5 separate regions of the Homo sapiens genome follow, and all the other regions are linked to region 1. Evidence: promoter capture Hi-C in human tissues and cell types (Jung and others, 2019). All regions are on one chromosome and are shown on one strand. The core of a region is centred on a gene start or on the middle of the fragment in contact, and the rest is flanking DNA. Distances in the headings are between cores, read along the strand shown.

Region 1 (4,339 bases), core at 1,181-3,680:
TATGTCTAGGCGCTGAGGAAGGAGGCCAATATCTGTTGATAACCAGGGAAAGTTTCAATTCAGCGAGGAGCCAATTCAAAGCACTTGCATCCTGACCAGTGGTGGCTACAAGTGAATCAGCTCCTGCAGCCCACCCAGGCCTGTGTTTTAGAGACTCCCCCAAATCCCCCGCGCATATCAACCCTGACCCTCCTATGTGGATGTCACAGTGCTGGCTCCTATGACATCTTGGGACATGGTGGAGATAAAATCAGATGACATATTGGCAATCTCTCTATGGTTGTAGAACCAAAGTGCTACTAACTACAGTTGAGGGTTAAATCATCCTGTTGCACCAGAGAAGAGCATGGAGGAGTCAATAAAATCTGAGAAGAGTCTCTCACCCCTCCTCAATGCCTCCCCTCTGGCCAGGTCTGGTCTCCCAAGCAGCTCTTAGATGCACCACTTCTGCCTGTGAGCCTCGGCTCATGCTGAGCCTTCTTCCAGGAATTTCCTTCCTCCTCCTAATTCCTAATCCTTCCCCAAGATCCAGTCAAGGTCTCCACCTCCTCCAGGAAGCCTTAGGTGACTACACCATCTCACATGAGCTTTCCCTTCTCCAAGCGCCTCATCATGTCACTCTACTACTCTTTCCACTTCTCGAAGTCCTCCTGTCTCCCGCCACGAGCATGTGCCGAACATGGAGAATATGAGCCCTGGAGGCCCAGATTTGTCTCAATACAGTTTCAGGCACCCCACTATGCCTGGGGTCATTAATCATTCTCCCTTCCCTCTTCTCCAGCTGGCAAACTCCTATTTATCCTTTAAAGCCACAGGTCCACTGTCCCCAACCCTAAAAACCCTGTCTGACTCTCCTGGGGAAGAGCTGCACACGCATCCCGTGCTACCACTGCAGCCGCTCATAATTCACCCACAAGAATGTACCAGGCGTCAACTTAATGGCAGGCACCAGGGGCACACATTAGTGAAACAGAACCCTGCCCTACCCCAAGGAACCTACATGCTACCCTGTTAGGCAACACCAAACAAAGTCACAATTATTTGATTGAAAGCTGCCAAGATGCACTGCCAGCTTGCTATGTTGCAAAGACGTTCTACATACTGAGACATTCAATCCTCACACAGGTGCTGTGGGTGCCAGCATTACCTTCTTGAGCCCTCTGTGTGCTGATATCGTCCTGGCTCACTCCGTCCCTGCGGATCTGTGATCTCTGGGGGGTGGGAGGAACCAAAAATGATAGCCTCCTCCACCCCATTCTCTCTCCTAGTTCCCTTCCTGCTTTATTGCTTCCTCAGCACTTGCAATCTGCACATACTAATAAATGAGATCTCTCTCATTTATTCTTTGCTGCCCCCAGCCCCCCATTGAGTTCCCCAGGCAGAGATGTGAGGCCTGTATCCCCACAGCCTAGGACAGTACCTGGTAAACAGTGGCGACCCAGACATAGTTGTGTGAAGAAATGCATCCCTCTGTCTTTTGCAGATGAGATTGCTGGGGTTCAGAGACGTCAAGCAGCTTGCCTGAGAGAAGCCACGCAGCTAATGAGCAGCAGAGCCCGATTCACACCCAGACATCTGGCCCCAGGGCATGTGTTTCTTGCCACTCACTGCCTCATGCCTTCTCTTTGTACTGCCATCGTTTGTCACCCAACTGCCTCTGCACCTCGGCCACGCCACCCTTGAGGATGGGGGCTGGTACCTCCTTTATCTTGTATCCACAGGACCCCACAGAGTGCCTTCCCCAGAGCGGTTTCTGCTAAATTCTGTTTAACAGAGTGTATTCATTCTGTTTGCTGAATGAATAAACAACCACATGAATGCATAAGTGTATTTCACAAACATTTGGTACTGATCAGGGAGACGGAATGCTCCGTTTAAATCCTGGGGTTCCGAAATGAGATGCTGTCTTTCAGGAGCAAGCATACTTTTGTAACAAGGCAAAAGTAAGGCACGATTCTTTGGCACATTTGTGATGTGTCTTTTGCCTCTTGATTCACAGATAAGGGTCCTTTTTTGGGGGTGAGCCCCATCTGCCCACCACACAACTCAGACACACACGGATAGGAAGACGCCTGCCTTGCCACGTTTTGGGGGAGCACTTACAGGAGAAGGCAGTGTCTAGGGATCGCCTCTCCTCAAGGCTGACTCCCACCCACACAGGCTGCCCCAGCCTCCCCATCCCAGGCACTTACACGGGATTTCTCGGCCAGCCTCGCAGGCAATGCCCGTTTCCAGATATTCTTGGCAGAGCCGGCGTGGAGGAGAAGTAGCAAGAGGCACAGAGCCCGGATGATCTGCCTCCTGCAGCTGCCCGGCCCCACGCCGGTTAAAGGCATTTCCTCCCTGGGCAGCGACCTTCCAGACGCACACAGAAGAGGGGCCCCCCTCGCTGCGTGGGCCTGTGAGTGGGGACAGGAGCGTGCACAGTCTGCTGGACTTTCTTAGTTCCACCCAGCAGGGTCCCTCGGATCATGTGTCCGCGTCCAGCACATGCCCCTTCCTCGATGGTGGCTGGCCTGCCCGGTTATTTTTAGCTTGCCCTATAACATCTGGCCCCAGACGCTCCAACCAGGGCGTCTGCAGCCCAGGCAGCTCAGTGGGCGGTGGCAGCAGGAGGAGGGGGCACCGGCTTGCTTGGAGACGTGGCCGGGAGTGGCCTGTCACTCTCCACTCTCCATAATGAGCACTTCCTTGCAGGCTGGGGCGGTCTCCTCCCAAGGAGGTGTGCTTGACACAGGGCTCGGGGCTGGACATGCAGGGGAGTGCAGCCGGATGGGTGGGGGCTCGGCTGCTACCTTGTTCACATTTCGAGCTGGGCTGACAAACTATCTGCCTATAAAAGCTTCTTTGAAAGAGGCTGCTGGACTGGCACTGGCCAAGGGTGCAGCCATGAAGAGACGACTTCCACCCTTGCACCCGCCGGGGTCCTCCTGCCTGATGTGGGCATGTGGGTAGTTCCTCATAGCGTGTGTTTCCTGTGAGATTTAAAAGAAATTGAGCACATAAAGCATTTCACACACATAAGTGTGCTGTCACTGTCAGCCGGTGTATCTGCACATGTGCATTTATGTGTATGCGTGTGTGCACGTGGGTGTGCATGTGCACGTGTGTGTTTTACAGGAATGTAGCACAGCGGGCTCAACATTTCACAAACTTCATATTCCCTTGTCTGTTCTCAGCACTTCCAAGACAGATACTGGTTTTTTGTTTTGTTTTGTTTTTCGAGACGGGTCTTGCTCTGTCACCCACGCTGGAGTGCAGTGGTGTGATCACAGATCACTACAACCTCTGCCTCCCGGGTTCAAGCGATTCTCCTGTCTCGGCCTTCCAAGTAGCTGGGATAACAGGCATGTGCCACCATGCCTGGCTAATTTTTGTATTTTTAGTGGAGACTGGGTTTCACCATGCTGGCCAGGCTGGTCTCAAACTCCTGACCTTAAGTGATCTGCCCGCCTCAGCCTCCCAAAGTGCTGGTATTACAGGTGTGTGAGCCACCACACCCGGCCCCAAAACAGACACTGTTTTGATGCCCGCTTTACAGATGAGGAAACAGAGGGGGCTGCCTGAGGTCATGCAACAGCAGCAGAGAGGAGGCTGGAACCCAGGTAGGTCAGACCCTGTGGCACCCCCCTAGGCGAAGCAGAAGGGACCCAAGCACTAGGCTTGACGCACCTGCCTGATCCCAGTTCAGCCTCTGCGAGATGCTGGAAAGCCTCTTGCTCATGGTCCTCAGTTCTCTCATCTGTGAAATGGGCATGTGAAAGTCTCTGCCTCTTGAGATCGATGTGGGGCTACAGGAGAGGGTGCCAGCTGTGCCCAGCACTTGCACAGAGTGAGTGCTCCAGAAAGATTGGTTCCTCCCTCCCTGGGGACCCTCACCCCCCACCTCCTGGCCAGCACAGCCTTCAGAATGCCCTGGGCAGGTATCATCAACCCCTCTTGGCCTTTTAGTGAATGACAATAGTGGCAAACACATATAGTCTGTGTAGGTCGGGTACGGTGGCTCACACTTGTAATCCTAGCACTTAGGGAGGCAGAGGATGCCTTGAGCCCAGGAGTTCAAGACCAGTCTGGGCAACATAGTGAGACCTCATCTCTACAAAAAATACAAAATAAAAAAAGTAGCCCGGCGTGCTGATGCACACCTGTAGTCCCAGCTAATTGGGAGACTGAGATGGGAGGATCACCTAAGCGTGGGAGGTTGAGGCTGCAGTGAGCTGTGATGGCGCCACTGTACTCCAGCCTGGGTCACAGAGCAAGACCCTGTATCAAAAAAAAAAAACCTTAAAAGCCATACAGTCTGTGTGTTCGGCAATGTTTGAAGCACTTCCTGCATTTT
Region 2 (4,339 bases), core at 495-2,994, 250 kb after region 1:
AAAGGGTCTTTGCAGATATAAGTAACGATCTTGAGATGGGATCATCTTGGATTATCTGGGTGGGCCTTTCTGAAAAGAGAAGACACAGAGGAGAAAGCTTGGGAAGATGATGCTGGCAGAGACGGCAGCAATGCAGTCACAAGCCAGGGAGTGCCTAGGCCCCCAGGAGCTGGAAGAGGCAGGAAGGATCCGCCCTCCATGGCCTCCAGAGGGAGCATGTCCCCATTGATACCTTGACCAACTTCTGACCTTCAAGACCATGACAGAATAACTTTCTATTGTTCTAAGCCCCTGAGTCTGTGTTGGCAGCCTCAGGAGCGTAATACAGGGGAACAATCAAACGACGTTTCCTTTCCTCTCTTTTCTGGCATTTGTGTATTCATTCATTCATTCATTCATTCTCTCACACACTCATTCAGGCACTGTCAGAGTCCTTGTGGGGCAGGAGGCCGTGTGACATTACAGCCTCTGAAAGGAGCCTGACTCAGGGTGAATCCCAGCCTTGTTGCTTGCCAGCTGTGATGCTCTGAGCCACGTGCTCCACCTGCCTGAGCCGAGTTCCTGCTTGGTGCGGGGTGGGAGTTGGGGGGAACAGTGGGGACACCCGCTCAGGAATCCGCGTGAACTCATCCAGGCTAGGTTCTCAGCAGCACATTTATGCAGCAGTGGCGTGAATGTCATCCGGGTCATTGTCCAGCCTTGAGCTCCGGGACTGCAATCCCGGCTCCCTTTCACTTGCCCCTGCTGAGAAGCCAGCCACTGACTCTGCTGGTTGGGCATTTATGGAGCAGCCATTGTGTGAGCCACAGAGTTTGGAACCTGCCTGCTCATCAGGAGGTAACAGGAGTCGGGGGTTGAGACCATTAGAAACCACATCAAAAAGAAGCCTTTGGGGCTGATCTGGTGTCGGACAGATAAGGACTGATTAGATGCAGCGGGGGGAGGGGTTCTGGGCATTGAGGATATTTAACTGAAAGCAGTGCTTCTCAGCGAGGGGCCGAACCAGCGGCATTGGAGTCACCTGGGAACCCGTTAGAAAGGCAGGTGCCCAGACCCCGCCCCGGAGACACTCAGTCAGAAACAGGGGCTGGGGCCTGGTGTTCTGTGTTTGAACAAGCCTTCCAGTGGATTCTGATGCAAACTGGAGTTCGAGAATGCGGGTGAGAGGGAGCCTGGGTTCCAGGAATAAACAGTCAAATTCCGGATCTGAGCTGCATGTGCCAGCATTTTCCGGAATGGGGCCGTCTCCGATATTCTGTCCCCTTAGCTGACCCCGTATCAGTTTGGAGAGATGTGTCATCACTCAAGCGTGGCCTAGGGACCAGCAGCCGCCGCCTCCCCCAAGCGTTCAACAAGCCCCGTCTCAGGTGACTCGTGTGCATGGGATTAGCTCTGAGACGCACCTGCTGGAGTTGGGTGGAGGAGGTAAAGGAAACCACCTAGGAGGCAGCACCTGCGGACGGTGGAGCCTGTTCTGCAGAGGAGGAGGCTGGGCTCAGGGCACTTTTCACGCCCCCTCCGTTGGGCTGGGGACCTTGGAGAGGTATGTGAGGATGGAGGCGCTGCAGAAGCTGCCATGAGATCATGGTGCCTGCTCCCCTGCCCCGTGTGGCTCCCAGCTGAGCTCCCTGTCACCCTCCAGGGCAGCTGAGAAAGCTCCACCCCCGGGGCCGGGCCTGCAGGGGGCTGGGGAGAGGCGGGAGTCTTAAGCCTTCCTTGCTCAGGTCAGAAGTCTCAAAAGCTGCAAATTCTTGGGACCCATGGCCCTGACCACTTGTTGCTGTCCTCTTAGGTGTGGAGGGGCCTGACCCTGACACATACTCGCTAGGGCTCCTTTAGTTAATGACTCACTCACCCCTGGCCAAGCTCGAATCTTGCTTCTCCCACCCCTCTGGCCCCAAGAAATGCAACTGAGCCACCTGGAGTAAGCCCGAGTCCCATCCCCAACAGCCAAAGACTGTCCGGCACCTTAAAAGTTGGATTTGGTGGTAAGGACCAGGAACTGGGGGTCTGTTTGTACAGAAGTTTGGCTGGAAGCAAAGGGAGTGGATGGGAATGGGGGGAGAGAGGATTGATGGGGATGAGGAAGGTTGGGGGTTTGGGAGAAGAGAGGGAGGGGGAAGGGGTGAGGTTGCCTTGGGGTCTAGTGGGAGGGCAGGAGTGAGAATAATGTGGGTAGGGAATGGGAGACGAAGGGGGACTAGAAGTCGTGGGCAGATGCATGCAGCACCCTTTGGAAAGGGGGAGCTGACGCCAAGGAAGCGGGCAGGAGCGGCTCAGGGAGCTCTCACTGAGTTGGGGAGACAAATAAGGATATCGAGAACTTAGGGAGGAAAGCGTGAAGACTGTGCTTTCTCTCCACCCCTCTGCCGCCTCTAGCCATGGAGGGACAGACCCCAGGAAGCAGGGGCCTTCCAGAAAAGCCTCACCCTGCCACGGCTGCTGCCACTCTGTCCTCGATGGGCGCTGTCTTCATCCTCATGAAGTCCGCGCTGGGAGCTGGCCTGCTCAACTTCCCCTGGGCCTTCTCCAAAGCGGGCGGAGTGGTCCCTGCCTTCCTGGTGGAGCTGGTAAGTCCCCGGGAAGTGAGTCCTGGGGACGGGTACGAGGTGGCTTTGGCTTTTCTGGGTGGGGTTCCTCGCATTGCTTCTGCGGAGTTGCGTGTCCTGTAAGCTATAGCTTCGGGGTTTTATTTTCTATCCCGCTCAGCTAATGAGGGGAGAAGATAATCCCACTGTAGCCCTGGGATGAGAATATCCCCCGTGGGCGCTGGTGGCATCTGATACACAGCTTCCGGGATGGAGCTACAGGCATCGCAGCTCTGTCTGTGAAGTGGGCATTTCACCTGGGAAGGAACCTCTCTGGGCGCCCTGCCTGGCCAGCTGCTCTTTCTTGCCTGCTGGTCTTAGCTCAAAAACTAAAGCTGGGCCGGGCACGGTGGCTCGTGCCTATAATCGCAGCCCTTTGGGAGGCCAAGGTGGACGGATCACCTGAGGTCAGGAGTTTGAGACCAGCCTGGCCCATATGGTGAAACCCTGTCTCTACTGGAAATACAAAAATTAGCGGGGCGTGGTGGCGGGCGCCTGTAATCCAAGTTACTCAGGAGGTGGAGTCAGGAGAATCGCTTGAACCTGGGAGGCGGAGGTTGCAGTGAGCTGAGACTGTGCGCTCCAGCCTGGGCGACGGAGTGAGACTCTGTCTTAAACACACAAAAACAAAGCTCGACTCCTGTGTGCAGATTGAGCCTAAAACTGGTGTGACACTCCCACACTCCCCACACAGAGCCGGGCCGGCCTTGCCTGGTGTCGGATGTTCCGCTCTCCTGCCTGCCGGGTGCAAAGCCAGAATTCCCTTTTGGGGAAGCGCGGACGCCGCGCTCTTCTCTTTGCTGCGGGAGAGCCACTGATGAGCACAGCTTTATTTTCTAAGATCCTTTGCCGCTGGCTGATGGAATGAATTGCTGCATTTTGTGGTAAGCTCTTTGGCCGGCTTTTTCTCACACGTCTTACGGCAGCTGGTGGATAATGGCTGAGTTCCAACCGTTTGTGTGCCCTGAGGCTCTTCGGGTCTGTTTGGAAACTAGTGTCGGGTGTAACCCATGACACCCCTGGCGTTGGCCGAGCTCCTGCCCCGTGCCTGGCCTAGGATGGATGACGCAGTGTGGTCCCTGTCCTCATGGAGCTTTGTTTTAATGGGAAGTCAGACAAGATGCATGTCATCAGCTTCAGATGGTGGATCATGCCGGGAGGGTCATGTGTCTCTGGGGATCGGGGGATGATATGACATGGCGTGGTCGGAAGCCTCTCGGAGGAGGTGACCTTTGCGCTGAGCCCCACTGGAAATGGTAAGAGCTTCCTGAGGTGCACGTGACGGGGCAGCACGCCTGCGTTTGGACTAGTGTGTCAGGAAGCCTGCCATTACAGCAGTGAGGGAGAAGCCCCATCTCAAGCCACAGAGGGCAGGTGGGGCTTGGGGGTAGGGTTGTGGCCAATCCCCGGGCAGCAGGAATGGCCATGAGCCAGAGAGTGGGAACCCTGTTCCACAAGCACCGTGCAGGCATTTCACACAGATCTTGCTGAAATGCAGATGCTGGCCCTGCAGGGCTGGGTGGGCCTGAGACCACATTTGTGACTTGCTTCTGGGGAAACAGCTGTTTTGTTTTGCTTAGGATGAGCTCCAGATCCCTTCACTCAGCAGACTTGAGGAGAAGGGAACCCTGAGGTGAATAAATGGAAACTCATGGCAGAGCAGAGGAGCCAGCCTGGCTCTTGACACGCTCCCGCCACCCCAAGTTGTTCCTTTTAGCCTCCAGGGCTACCGGGGAGATGGAGTTGGGGCT
Region 3 (4,339 bases), core at 1,085-3,584, 210 kb after region 1:
AAGCGGGCAGCCGAGGGGTTGTTCCTTTTCCCAGCAGCTTCTTTAAGTACAGATATTTTCAGCAACAAGGAAGCCTTTCAGTCTCCTCATCTCCCTGCAGCAGATGAAACTGCCGTTGTGATCTCTGTGTGTGACAGTCGCTCATAATGGAAGCCGAGCAGCAGTGGCGGGCCTCCCGAGCTCCAGCCTGATGATGCTGTGAAAGGCAGTGGAACGCAACCCTTGAGTTCACTTTATAGGCAGGAAGAGGAGGAAGATTGTTGACCCATAGCTTTGAGCACTTCTTTTCTTCTGTCATTAAGAATCTACTTTATCTCCTCTACTTATGTCAGATTTCCCATTTAGAAAACCTGCCTAGACTCCAACACCAAACATCATCACATACGAATATTTAGGAACTTAGGAGAGTTAAGTTTTCCTTTTTTGTGTACTGATATTCCCACCTCAATTTTAGGAATTAAAATTCACTTGTATTTATAATACATAAATACACAAAAATGGATGTTGTAACGCTAGTATCACCAGGCTAAGTTCCTAGCCAGGTCACACTGTGTGTTAAAGCTTGTTCAGATGCATTCTCATGGTGAAACTGAAGGTGGCCTTAGGTCTATGTCGTTCTGAAAGGCATCATCCATCAGGGTGGCTCATCCCAGACAAGCCTCCCAATCTGGAAACAAAAAGGCAAGGATTGGCTTTGGAGGCGGCGGTCCTCACTCAGACCTGTGCCTCCTGCTAGTCCTGTGTCGTGGCCCCTCCCCAGGATCTGAATGTGCTCCTCCTTCTCCCAGCCAGGCGGTGTCCCATGGCATCTTCTTCCTGTGACCAGCAGGCTTCCTCTCCCCAGAGGAGTCAGTACCTCCTATACATTCATGCCTTCTGCAGCCTATGTGGTTGTTTAGTTGAATTATCACAAAAATATGTGTTACTGATGCATTTAGCATAAGTGGGTCCCGTAGAAGGTTGCGGAGTGGTCAGTCCTGGATTGGGTACAGAGATGAGTGTGCACTCATTCTCTCATGCAGGCTGTGCCAGACAAGCACCTGTTGGATACTAAACAAGACTGCAGGCCTCTTGTGTGCACGTTTGTAGGTTAGGTTTTAGTGGTCCAATTTCCATTCTTTTACTGAGAGAAAATAGGCAATTCTTGATTTTTCCTCCAGCACAGTCCAGAAGCGTGAGCTGGTGAATCCCGCCAGTATGAAGCAGGCCCTGATCGCGTCAGCCCGGAGGCTCCCCGGGGTCAACATGTTTGAGCAAGGCCACGGCAAGCTCGATCTGCTCAGAGCCTATCAGATCCTCAACAGCTACAAGCCACAGGCAAGGTCAGTGCACCGCCCTGCCGATGGGTCTTTCTCTCCTTCACTGGGCTCTGGGCGAATTTTCCCTCTGCACAAAATACAAGCCTCAAAACAGAAAATGATGACTAAGCACAGAATTCTCGGGGTGCTTGGAGAGGTTTTGCTGCTGCTTCTACAGGGTGCTGCTGGCAGAACTGGTAGCTGCTTTCGCTTACTGATGTGATCTTTAATATAAATGGTTAAAAGTAATGATTTCTGAGTGGTTTTTTTGCTTTTGTTGTTTACTTTCTTAGACTCTTGAAATAATCTTAGGTTTACAGAAATTTTGCAGAAATAGGAGAGAGTTGTCCTACAAGGTTGCCCAGTTTCCCCTGATGCCACCATTTCAGATGAGTGGAGTACAGCTGTTAAAACTGTCATACAAACACTGACACTGTGCTGTAATTCACCTGCAGACCACATACATCTCGCCAGCTCCTGTGGTACTCCCGTCCGGCCTGGGCCCTGCTTTGTTTTCACCCTTATTTTGAAATGATTTTAGATTTACAGCAAAGTTTCACAAATAGTTCATGAGAACCCCTGAGTCCTTCACCCAGCTTTCCCTCACCTTAGTATCTTCCATAACCTCAGTATGAGCGTCAGAGTCTGGAAATGAACCTTGATGTAGCACTGCTGACTGACCTGCAGGCTTCACGCAGATTCCGCCCATTGTCCCACAGGTCCATTCTCTGGGATCCAGTCCAGGATCCCACATTGGATTTCATTGTCCTGTCTTCTTGGTTTCCTCTAATCACAGACGGTTCCTCCGTTTTCCTTCATCTTGTTATTGGGGGTATTCATTTTCATCATTTGATTAATGTGGTCTGTCAGTCTGGGTCCTCCAAGAAGCAGACGTCAAGCTAGGATTACATGTTCAAAAGATATGTGGGGAGTGAGGGCCTCTGAAGGATAAAGGGAAGGGTGTGGGAATAGGCAGGAACTGCAGTGCTGATCTGACACCGAAAAGTTAGGAGGACTGGGGAGGAAGAGGCTCGCACAGGCCTGAAAAAGTTTTGGCTGATGGGAAATCCTTGAACCAGATTGCCTGTTGGAGGAGTCCTGTGTCCCCCCAGAATGGGCCTGCCCTGGTGCCTCCTGTGTGCTTAGTCATTGGCTGGGAGCAGCCCCAGGGGAAGCGTGGCCTTGGCACAGACGTGTGAGGACCTGAGGGTGGCAGCTGCGGGTGTCAGCCAGCAGTGTCCTGCAGAGGAGACCTGAGCTGCTGGCCCTGTGGGGCCAGAGGTGGCTCCTGCCAGGTGTCTCCACTGTGCAGCCCGTGTTTCCTTTGTGACTTCTCAGTGTCTTGTGGGGGCATGTTTCGAGATGGCCTTGTTTCGTCACATACTTCCACTCACTCATGTTAGCATGCCTTGATGGTTCTTGCCTTTGGTGATTACTCCTGACAACTTTGACACGTGATGATTTTCTTTTTCCTTCATTCCATTTACATTGATTAATTGGAACTCTCCTGGAAGGAAGAGCTGTCCTTTCTGTCCCATTTATTTATTCAGTTCTTTACATCAGTGTGGACACATAGATATTTATTTTACTCTGTGGATTATAATTAATATCATTTAGTGGGTCGTTCAAATTGTCCCCGAGTTGGCTGTTGGGAGCTCCATCTAGTTGGCTTATGTGTGTTTTCAGCATGTGTCCAGCCTTTTCTGAGCACTTTCTGTCTTCCTGGCAGCACAGGATGTCCTGTCATGCACCTCTGTGCTCTAGCCTTGGTATCAGTTCTGTCTCCAAGCAGCTCTTTGCTGATGGCCTCTTCTAAAGAAATCAAGACCTGGGCACTCGGGGTGCTCCAAGCTGCTGTGCTCACAGTGGTTACTGCGCTCTTCGGACAGAGCTAGGCAACGTGTGGACACGTGCACAGACACATACGACTGCTTCTGTATCTGCCTATCTGTGTATGTACTGGAAACATGAGTTCATGCCACCTCCAGGTTCCAGCCAGTATCTCAGTGTTCATTCCAGCCTTTCCCTATCCTTGTTTCTATTTATTTATTTATTTCTTATTTACAGAGATGGTCATGTTACCTCTGTTTCTAACTCCATTCTCCAACAGTGAGAAGCCTGGCTCTCATTATCCACAATATGTTGGCTTATTTGCTTAGTTGTAGTGTATACGTACTGAGCAGCTTTGGAACTGCTAGCCCATGTCCTTGTGAGTTTTTTGAATATAGTATTTGTGACAGTGCGTCATTATCTTTGGCCCTACAGAATACAGTTATAGTGTTTTTTTCAGTTACTTAGGTTAATTCTTTCCTTGGTGTCTTTTTAATACAGTTGGACTCATTTATTCGTGTTTGTATTCCTTTTTAGATTTCCCCCACATCCTCGTTGATTATAACTTGTTATTGGGTGTGTGAAACATGACTGTGGTTCTAAGGATGTGTTCGTTTGTTCTTGCACTGCTATAAAAAAATACCTGAGACTGGGTAATTTATAAAGAAAAGAGGTTCAGTTGGCTCCTGGTTCTGCAGGCTGTACAGGAAGCATAGCACCAGCACCTGCTTCTGGGGAGGCCTCAGGGAGCTTCCAATCATGGCAGAAGGTGAAGGGGAGCCAGCACATCACATGGCAAGAGAGGGAGCAAGAGAGCGGGGAGGTCCCAGACTGTTAAACACCCAGATCTTGCCTGAGCTGAGTGAGAACTCAGTTACCACCAGAGGGATGGTGCTAAACCACCCATGAGGGGTCTCCCCCAGGACCCAGTCCCTCCCACTAGGCCCACCTCCAACATGGGGGATTACACGTCAGCGTGAGATTGGGAGGGGGCGAGCATCCAAACCATGTCAGTTCCCACTCGCCCATTCTTTCTACCAGGCTTCCGCACACGCCTTAGGTAACCATGACATCAGGTTTGGGTTTATCCTTCCCCCTGCCCCCACCACCCCACAAATGAGCACATACATAGAAGGATAGCATCGCTGTGGATATTGTTTTGGATTCTGCTTTTTTCACTTAACGTCCTGGAAATCTCTCCACGTCAGTGC
Region 4 (4,339 bases), core at 1,241-3,740, 210 kb before region 1:
GCCTAAAATCAAGGGGTCAGCAGCATGGTGTCCTCTGTGGAGGCTCTAGAGGAGATTCCCTTCCCTCTTCCATCTTCAGGGCGGTAGCGTGGCACTGTCCAGTGCCTCCTGCCCCCACCTGCTTCCCTACTTCCATCGCGGTCTCCTCCCAACCCTGAGCCTCCTGTCTTCCCCCATTAGGATTGCTGTGATTGCCTGGGGCCCACCTGGGTAATCCAGGATAATCGCCTCATTTCAAAGTCCTTAACTCAGTCGCATATGCGAAGTCCCTCTTGCCGTGTCAGGTAACATATGCGCAGGTTCTGGGGATTAGGTCATGGACGTCTTTGGGGGCTGTTCTGTGTCCCAAGGGGGTAAGCTGGCTTCAGGCGATCTGTGGCCCATGTTTCAAGTTGACTTTGAGCTTGTGGTCACTTGTGTGGATGTCCTTTGCGACTCTCCTAGCAGGCGGTGCCTGCTGCAGCCCTTAGCTGGGCAGTACCTGGCCTTTCACCCTCCTGGTTCACCCTGGGTCCTGGTTCACCCTGGGTCCTGGGTCACCCTGGGTCCTGGTTCACCCTGGGTCCTGGTCCTGTAGCCCCTCACTGCTGGGCTCCTGGTGTTCTACGGAAGGTCTCCTTCTGCGATGTCTCCAGGCTGCTGTGGCCACCTGTCCCAGATGCCCCACCTCTGACCTGCTGCTGGGAGGCAGGGCAGTCAGTTCCTGGCAACAGACCTTGCTCTGCTGCCCTGGCCCCTCAGCTGCCTCACGCGTGACATGGCCATTGGCTGGAGCTCTCCGAGGCAGGGCCACTGAAGCCCCCGAGCCCTGAGAGGCTGACCCTGCACTCACTCTAAGGGGAAATGGAACTCGGCCCTCTAGCAGGCCTCCACAGCCTTGACCCTTTCACACCACCATCTGTGTGAGGCCTCAAAAGATTGTGCACTTTCCTTGAAAAAAAAAAAAAAAAAAGAAAAATCTTAGTATCACTCCCATCGCATAAAATTAAGCATATTGAAGTGTATAATTCCATGACATTGAGGATAATACGTTCACAATTGCTGTACTATTGCCTCTGTTTAGTCCCAAAATATTTTTATTACCCCTGAAGGAGACCCCAGAGCCATTATTAGCAGTCACTCCTCATTCCTAACGCTCCAGCACTGGCAACCGCAATCTACTTTCTGTCTCTAAATTTGTCTTTTCTGAACATTTTACATCAAAGCTACAATATGTGGTCCTTTGTGTCTGGCTGCTTTCACGTAACCACAGTTTTTTTTTTTTTTTTTTTTTGAGGCAAAGTCTTACTCTGTCACCCAGGCTGTAGTGCAGTGCGCGATCTTGGCTCACTGCAACCTCTGCCTCCTGGATTCAAGCAATTCTCACGTCTCAGCCTCTTGAGTAGCTAAAATTACAGGCGCCCACCACCATGCCCGACTAATTTTTGTATTTTTAGTAGAGACAGGGTTTCACCATGTTGGCCAGGCTGGTCTGAAACTCCTGAGCTCAGGTGATCCACCGAGGTAGGTGATCCACCTACCTCGGCCTCCCAAAGTGCTGCGATTACAGGCATGAGCCACTGCGCCTGGCCATAACATCAGATTTTCAAGGATTATCCACGTTGTAATGTGTCAGTGGTTCATTCCTTTTTTTTAAATTGCCAAATATTATTCCATTGTGTGGATATACCATATCTTGTCTATCCATTCTTCAGATGGGCTTTTATCTTTTTTCCACTTTAGGCTATCGTGAACAGTGCTGCTTGAACATCCAGTACTAGTGTGTGTTTGAATACAGGTTTTCAGCTTTGTGGTGTATCTAGGCGTGGGACTGCTGGTCCTATGGTAACTCTGTTTAACTTTTTGAGGACTGATTTCCCCCATGGCTGAACCATTTCACCAGCAGTGCGGGAGGAGAGAACTACCTCCTCTCCAACACTCGCTATTTAAAAAACTTTAGCCCTCTTAGGCCGGGCATGGTGGCTCATGTCTGTAATCCCAGCACTTTGGGAGGTCAAGGTGTGAGGATCGCTTGAGCCCAGGAGTTCGAGACCAGCCTGGGCAACATCGCGAGGCCCCATCTCTACAAAAAATAAAAATAGCCTGGTGTGGTGGGGTACGCCGGTGGTCCCAGCTACTTACGAGGCTGAGGTGGGAGGATGGCTTGAGCCTGGGAGGTCGAGGCTGCAGTGAGCTGAGCCGTGATTGCATCACTGCACTCCAGACTGGGTGATAGAGCAAGATCCTGTCTCAAAAACAAAACAAAAACGTTAGCTATCCTAGTGGGTGAGCCGTACATTTATTTTTGATTTTCAATTTTGAATTGTTGCATGTGGTCCGGCAAGCACTGCACAATAGAATAACTGCCTGCCACATGTGGCCATTCAAACTGAAAATGAGAATAAATTCAATAAAATGAACTCGACTTCCTCTACTGCACAAGTCAGCCGTGGCTTCCGGCTCCATGCTGGCGGCACAGATGGATCGTTGCCCGCCTCACCGAGTGCTGCTGGAGGCTGCTGGTGGTGCCTCCTCAGGGCACGGCTGCTCCTGCGTTTGCTGCTTGGTGGTGGCCTCCTAACAGCCTGGCCCAGAAGGTGGTCCATGCAGCCCAAACTTGGGTTCCAGAGATGGGGAGTCGGGGGCAAGGAGCACATGGGGAAGAGAGAGTGGATGCTCAGCCACAATGGGGGCCCGGTGGTGGCTCAGCCTTTCTGTGGAGGTGTCAAAGCTGGACATGGAAAATTGGGCAGGGATGTCGCTAGCAGAGGCACCGCTGTGGATGGCAGGACCAGCCTGGTCAGGACCTCTGGGAGCCAAGGAGAGTTCAGTGCCCAAAGTCAGCATAAAAAACAGAAGCTGGTGCCCCGGGGGCAGTTGGACAGCCCATGGACATCCCCGGGAGCACCAGCTTGTTGAAATAGCATGATGTATATTTTTAAAAGAGTCTCACTTTATATGCAAAATGTCAAGCAATATAAATCTCTTATTTAAAAAAATTGAGAATACCAGGGGCGGTGGCTCATGCCTGTAATCCCAGCATTTTGGGAGGCCGAGGTGGGTGGATTACCTAAGGTCAGGAGTTCGAGACCAGCCTGGCCAACGTGGTGAAACCCCGTCTCTACTAAAAATATAAAAATTAACTGGGTGTGGTGGCCTATGCCTGTAATCCCAGCTACTCGGGAGGCTGAGGCAGGAGAATTGCTTGAACCTGGGAGGTGGAGGCTGCAGTGAGCCGAGATTGCGCCATTGCACTCCAGCCTGGGCAACAAGAGTGAAACTCCATCAAAAACAGAAACTTTCCAACCAGGCAGGTGGGCAGATTGGAGTGTAGGCTGTTTCTGGAGGGTATGGCCACGAGGTGGCGCCACTTCGGTAGCTCTCAAACGGCGCCGCTCCGCATTTGCTTCTGTGGTTTTCTGGGGGATTTTGTTTCACCGTTTTAATAACAAGATCTCACTTTCCTGCCCAGGCTGGAGTGCAGTGGTGCAATCACGGCTCACTGCAGTCTCGCCCTCTGAGGCTCAAGCGATCCTCCTGCCTCGGCTCCCTGAGTAGCTGGGACTACGGGTGTGCCATACCACGCCCGGCCAAGCTTTTCATTTTTTGTAGAGATGGAGTCTCACTATGTTGCCCAGGCTGACACATCGGCTCCGGTTTGCTCCTGCGGACCCCCCAGTACCTGCACCTGAGAGGCCACCATTGCTGTCCACCCTTGGTGTGCCTCAGCCTACAAAAAACTGTTGCTATGTCAAAAATGCCACTACCTCGGATGGCACTGAAAAAGACACACCTGGTTGATGTGTGCAGGAAGTACAGGGGTGTGAAGGCTGGAAACAGGGTCTAGTCCTTCATGTCTAAAGGCCCGTGTGTCTTGGGCATCAGGAGCCCTGGCTGCAGGTGACAGGCACCTACTCTAAGAAGCCGAGGTGAAGAGCTGGGGCTACTCGTGTCATTGGCATCCACAGCTGGGGGTACCCTGGCTGTAGATGCGTTAGTTTGTGGAGCTGCTTCTCCTGGGACATTGGCCTTGGATCTCAGAGCAATGTCTTGGTGAGGGGCCCTACCTTGTGCACTGTCACCAGCCAGGCCTGCTGCCCTCAGGCAGAAAGCCTTCTATTTTTGTTCCAGCTTAAAGAATAAGAGGTGACCAGCCGGGTGCAGTGGCTAACCCCTACAATTCTAGCACTGTGGGAGGCCGAGGCAGGCAGATCACCTGAGGTCAGGAGTTCGAGACCAACTCAAGCGGACGTTGGCGGGCGAAGTCACGGTTTTCCAGGCTGGAAAACCAGCAGGCCGTGCAGGGGAGAGAACTGGTACCATGGACATGCGGGAGCTGAATCTGCAGGAAGGTGGACCC
Region 5 (4,339 bases), core at 1,207-3,706, 160 kb after region 1:
GATTTCTGAAATAAAACAAACCCTAAAGCAGAAAGATTGATATATTTGTCTCTTTCAAAATTAAGACATTCAGCCAGGTGCAGTGGCTCCCACCTGTAATCCCAGCACTTTGGGAGGCCAAGGCAGGTGAATGGTTTGAGCTTACGAGTTTGAGACCAGCCTGGGCAACATGGTGAAACCTCATCTCTACACACACAAAAAAAATTTAACTGGGCTTGGTGGTACATGCCTGTGTCCCAGCTACTTGAGATGCTGAGGTGGGAGGATGGCTTGAGCCCGGAAGGCGGAGGTTGCAGTGAGCTGTGATCATGCCACTGCACATCAGGCTGGGCAATAGAGCCAGACCTTGTCTCAATAATAATAACAACACATTTAGTTCATGAAAGACACTATAATGAGACACAAAACATACAGAGAGCTAGTATCTAGAATATTTAAAGAATTCTTACAATTCTGAGAGAAAAAAAAGGAAAGGACAAAAGATAGGAACGGGCATTTCATAGATTACAAAACACAGAAAGCACATACATATAAAAAGGACTGCAGCCTTACTAGTAACCAGGGAAATGTAAATTAAAACCATAATGAGATACCATTTCACAGCCACCCTGTTGGCAGAAGGTGAAGCTTTGGACGCTACCAGCCAGTGACATTGAGGAGTGGCACGAACCTGCTGCTGGCGGGAGTGTGAATGGGTTCTGCCGCTTTGCAAAAGCATTTGGCAGTGGAATGCATGTGGACCAGCAGTTAAACCATGGGCAAATCCCTTTGCGAACTCTTGCACAGGTGTGCAGGAGATGGGGACAAGCGCTCCCTGCAGCACTGTTCCTAACTGTAAATCAAAACCAGCAGAAACAGTGCACGTGCCTAGCACCAGCAGCAGGGGGACCTGTGAATCGTGGTGTATCTGAACCAGCAGCAGGGGGACCTGTGAATCGTGGTGTATCTGAACCAGCAGCAGGGGGACCTGTGAATCGTGGTGTATCTGAACCAGCAGCAGGGGGACCTGTGAACTGCAGTGCATCTGAACCGTGAGATACTGTGCAGCTGCCGAGGAGGATGGACTATATAGCTGCAGGGGCATGGATGAGTCTCGGGAATGATGTTGAGTGAAAGAAACAAGTCACCAAAGGGTCCATGTGGTGTGGTTCCTTTATGTGAGGTTCAAAACCAGGCGAAACTTAGCAATACTGTTTTTTTTTTTGTTTGAGACGGAGTCTCGTTCTGTCGCCCAGGCGGGAGTGCTGTGGCGCGATCTCCGCTCACTGCAAGCTCCGCCTTCCGGGTTCACGCCATTCTCCTGCCTCAGCCTCCCGAGTAGCTGGGACTACAGGCGCCCACCACTGCGCCCGGCTAATTTTTTGTATTTTTAGTAGAGACGGGGTTTCACCGTGGTCTCGATCTCCTGACCTCGTGATCCGCCCGCCTCGGCCTCCCAAAGTGCTGGGATTACAGGCGTGAGCCACCGCGCCCGGCCAGCAATACTGTTACTGTTTCAGAATACATGCTTGGGGTATACAGCTGTTTTGTTAAAAGAGTCAGGGAGTGACTACCCCAGAATTTAGGAGAGAGGCTGCCTCCAGGATAGAGGAGGGGCTGTAATCAGAGGAACAGCATACAGGACTTCCACGACACTGGTTTTGTTAAGTAGGCTGGTGGCTAAGTGGCTGTTTTATTATTCTTTGAACTGTGCATAATAGGTTTTACATACTTTTGTATATATTTAAACATTTTTGCCAGGTGCAGTGGCTCACGCCTGTAATCCCAGCACTTTGGGAGGCCGAGGTGGGTGGATCACTTGAGGTCAGGAGTTCAAGACCAGCCTGACCACCATGATGAAACCCCATCTCTACTAAAAATACAAAAATTAGCTGGGCATGGTGGAGGGCACCTGTAGTCCCAGCTACTCGGGAGGCTGAGGCAGGAGAAACGCTTGAACCCAGGAGGCGGAGGTTGCAGTGAGCAGAAATTGCACCATTGCACTCCAGCCTGGAAGACAGAACAAGACTCGGCCTAAAAACAAAAATTTCTTTTAGTTACAGAAAAATTCGTTTTCTATACATCTCCTGCCCTCCAGAGGCCTGTGCTCTCCTTGGACAACCAAGAAACCAAGATATAAGCAAGTTGAGTGTTTAAATAGAATCCAAAGCAGTGTGTGCTAAGTGCCACATGGGTAAGAGAGGTGGAGAGGAATTCAGAGGTGGGGGCAGTGCCACGGCCTGGGAAGGGAAGGGACAGGAAGGGAAGTTTCTCCCCAGGGCTGACATGTTGTTGGTGCTTGTTAGGAAGTGATTGAACGGAGGAGAAGACATGGGACTTGAAACGTCAGGAAGAACAGAGGATTTGGAGTACTGAGCACAAGACAGATTCACACTCTGAAAAAATTAAGATTTATTTGGAAAAATGTTTTCATCAATGAAAACAGCCATCGCCCTGGAGCCTTACTGAAAAGCTGGATAATCCCAGCTGGTGAGGAGGAGGACCTCAGGTCTACCCTGGTCAGTCAAAGATGGCAGGAACCTCTGAGACTTTCTGGCTCCTGAATACACATAGTGGTTTTGGCTTAAGGGAGGTTGCAGAGTTTTCAGCTTGTCTCTTCGCTGTCCTGAAAGCTGAACTGACTGTTCATCCATCCCTTCCTCCCACTGTTTATCCTTATCCCCTGTGGCTGATGTAACAAATTGCCACAAAGGTAGTGGCTTAAAATGACACAGATGTCTCTTCCTTCTGGAGATGGGAATCTGAAGTCATTGTGACTGCGCTAAAGTCAAGGTGTCAGCAGGGCTGTGTTCCTCTGGAGGCTCCAGGGGAGAATCCTTTTCCTTGCCTCTGCCAGCTTCTAGAGGCCACCCCCCGTCCTTCACTGGTGACCCACCCCTCTCTCTATTATCGAAACCAGCAGCACAGAGCACCCTCAACTCGAGCTCTCTCTGACCTCTCCCTTTGTAGTCACATGGCTCTCTCTCTTTGATCTTCCTGCCCCCCTTACAAGGACACATGATGACATTGGACCCACCCTCCCCAGCTCGGAGTCTTTAACTCAGTCACATCTACGGAGTCCCTTTGGCCACATAAGGTGACGTATTTACAGGGTCTGGGGATTAGGCTGTAGATATCCCTGGAGGCCATTACTGTGCCCACCACACTGTCGTTCGCTAATGCTTTGATTGTCTTTTTTTCCATCCTGCTTGCTTTGTCTTCTTTAAAACCCTGGCCAGTCTGCCTTGTGTTCTTTCACCACCCGCCCCACGTCACACGCATTTGGATAGCTTGGTAATGTCCATGTTTCAGCCAAGACTTTCCTCCCAGAACTCTTGGTACATGAAGGTTTTTCTATTTGAGTTGATTGCCCTTTACACTGCTAGGTGGAGTCCCCTTCACTGTGGAGTGGGATCATGTTACAGGCCACAGCAGTGGTGCTTTGAAGAGGTGACTTTGCTACTTGCAGTTTTGACCATAATTGTCCCGTGACGCTTTTGTAGTTGTAACGTTTCCTGTAGGTTTTTGATGACTCCTGCCCTGTAGAAGTAGAAAATGCTTAAAAGATAATAGGGACTTGCTCTTCTTTTCCTAGTTTGGGGACAGTTGTGGTTTTGTTTTGTTCACAGATGTTTTAGTTTTCTGCAGAGATGAGAAAACAAAGCTTAAAAATTTTTTTAAATTATTTTATATTTTTCCAACTTCATCGAAGTATAATTGACAAATAAAATTATATAAATTTAAGGTGTACAACATGATTTGATATATGTATACTTTGTGAAATGATCACCACAACCAAATTAGTTAACACATTCATCACCTCAGTTACTTTTTTATTTCTTTATGGTGAGAACACTTGAGATCTACCCTCTAAGCAGATTTTAAGCCTACAATTTGGTATTGCTCACTATGGTCACTGTACTGTACATTAGCTCTCCAGACGTATGCATTTTATATTTGAAAGTTTATACCCCTTTGACCAAAACTTCCCACCCATGACCCCACCTCTAGCAACCACCATTCTACTCTCTGTTTAAGAAAATAAAGCTTTAGAATAAGTTCTTGCAGGTAGATTGTACATGAATCAGAATTTTACTGTGTTTTAGTATTGCTTTCCACATCATGGGTTTCTCTAGGTTGCAGGCTGCCTTAGTTGGTTTTGAGCTGCTATAACAAAATACCATGAACTGGGTGGCTTGGAAACAGCAAACACTTACTTTTCGCAGTTTGGGAGGCTGAATGGTCCAAGATCAAGGTGGTGGAGCCCTCATTATCTGATCGCCTCCCAAAGGCCCTCCCTTCTAAACCATCACCTGGGGGGTTAAGATTCAAGACAAGAATCAGGGAGTGGGGCGGAACG

Evidence for each region. The method cuts DNA at HindIII sites, captures the fragments that hold promoters and counts their contacts. A contact is called where the count stands out against the background at its distance.
Region 2: a contact is called between the fragment with the promoter of SLC38A8 here and the fragment with the promoter of WFDC1 in region 1, in 3 of the 25 tissues and cell types used here (H1 embryonic stem cells, mesenchymal stem cells and ovary).
Region 3: a contact is called between a fragment that was not itself captured here and the fragment with the promoter of WFDC1 in region 1, in 2 of the 25 tissues and cell types used here (H1 embryonic stem cells and IMR-90 fibroblasts).
Region 4: a contact is called between a fragment that was not itself captured here and the fragment with the promoter of WFDC1 in region 1, in 8 of the 25 tissues and cell types used here (H1 embryonic stem cells, bladder, dorsolateral prefrontal cortex and 5 more).
Region 5: a contact is called between a fragment that was not itself captured here and the fragment with the promoter of WFDC1 in region 1, in 3 of the 25 tissues and cell types used here (IMR-90 fibroblasts, dorsolateral prefrontal cortex and mesendoderm cells).

Annotation. Positions count from the first base shown.
Region 1 is chr16:84,292,969-84,297,307 of GRCh38, reverse strand. It overlaps WFDC1 (WAP four-disulfide core domain 1), which reads right to left and starts at 2,430. Exons shown (of 7, transcript NM_021197.4): 1 at 2,193-2,430. The coding sequence starts at 2,336. LOC124903734 reads right to left here. Exons shown (of 6, transcript XM_047435022.1): 5 at 3,673-3,791; 6 at 2,470-2,975. The coding sequence ends at 2,470. The HindIII fragment of the contact is 18,601 bases long and covers 1-4,339 here.
Region 2 is chr16:84,040,200-84,044,538 of GRCh38, reverse strand. SLC38A8 (solute carrier family 38 member 8) reads left to right here and starts at 1,744. Exons shown (of 11, transcript NM_001080442.3): 1 at 1,744-1,988; 2 at 2,380-2,570. The coding sequence starts at 2,382. RefSeq lists enhancers at 173-876, 877-1,581, 1,582-2,285, 2,286-2,990. The HindIII fragment of the contact is 13,701 bases long and covers 1-4,339 here.
Region 3 is chr16:84,078,730-84,083,068 of GRCh38, reverse strand. MBTPS1 (membrane bound transcription factor peptidase, site 1) reads left to right here. Exons shown (of 23, transcript NM_003791.4): 11 at 1,161-1,322. Among named protein-coding and RNA genes, the nearest start is that of MBTPS1, 36 kb to the left of the region's middle. The HindIII fragment of the contact is 6,670 bases long and covers 1-4,339 here.
Region 4 is chr16:84,505,602-84,509,940 of GRCh38, reverse strand. It overlaps LOC124903736 (a long non-coding RNA gene), which reads right to left. Exons shown (of 2, transcript XR_007065149.1): 2 at 2,262-2,595. Among named protein-coding and RNA genes, the nearest start is that of MEAK7, 3.1 kb to the right of the region's middle. RefSeq lists enhancers at 1-443, 1,134-1,203, 2,194-2,694, 4,304-4,339 and silencers at 2,967-3,203, 3,187-3,306. The HindIII fragment of the contact is 9,061 bases long and covers 1-4,339 here.
Region 5 is chr16:84,137,960-84,142,298 of GRCh38, reverse strand. All of the region lies in intron 1 of HSDL1 (hydroxysteroid dehydrogenase like 1), which reads left to right. Among named protein-coding and RNA genes, the nearest start is that of HSDL1, 5.0 kb to the left of the region's middle. The HindIII fragment of the contact is 4,844 bases long and covers 35-4,339 here.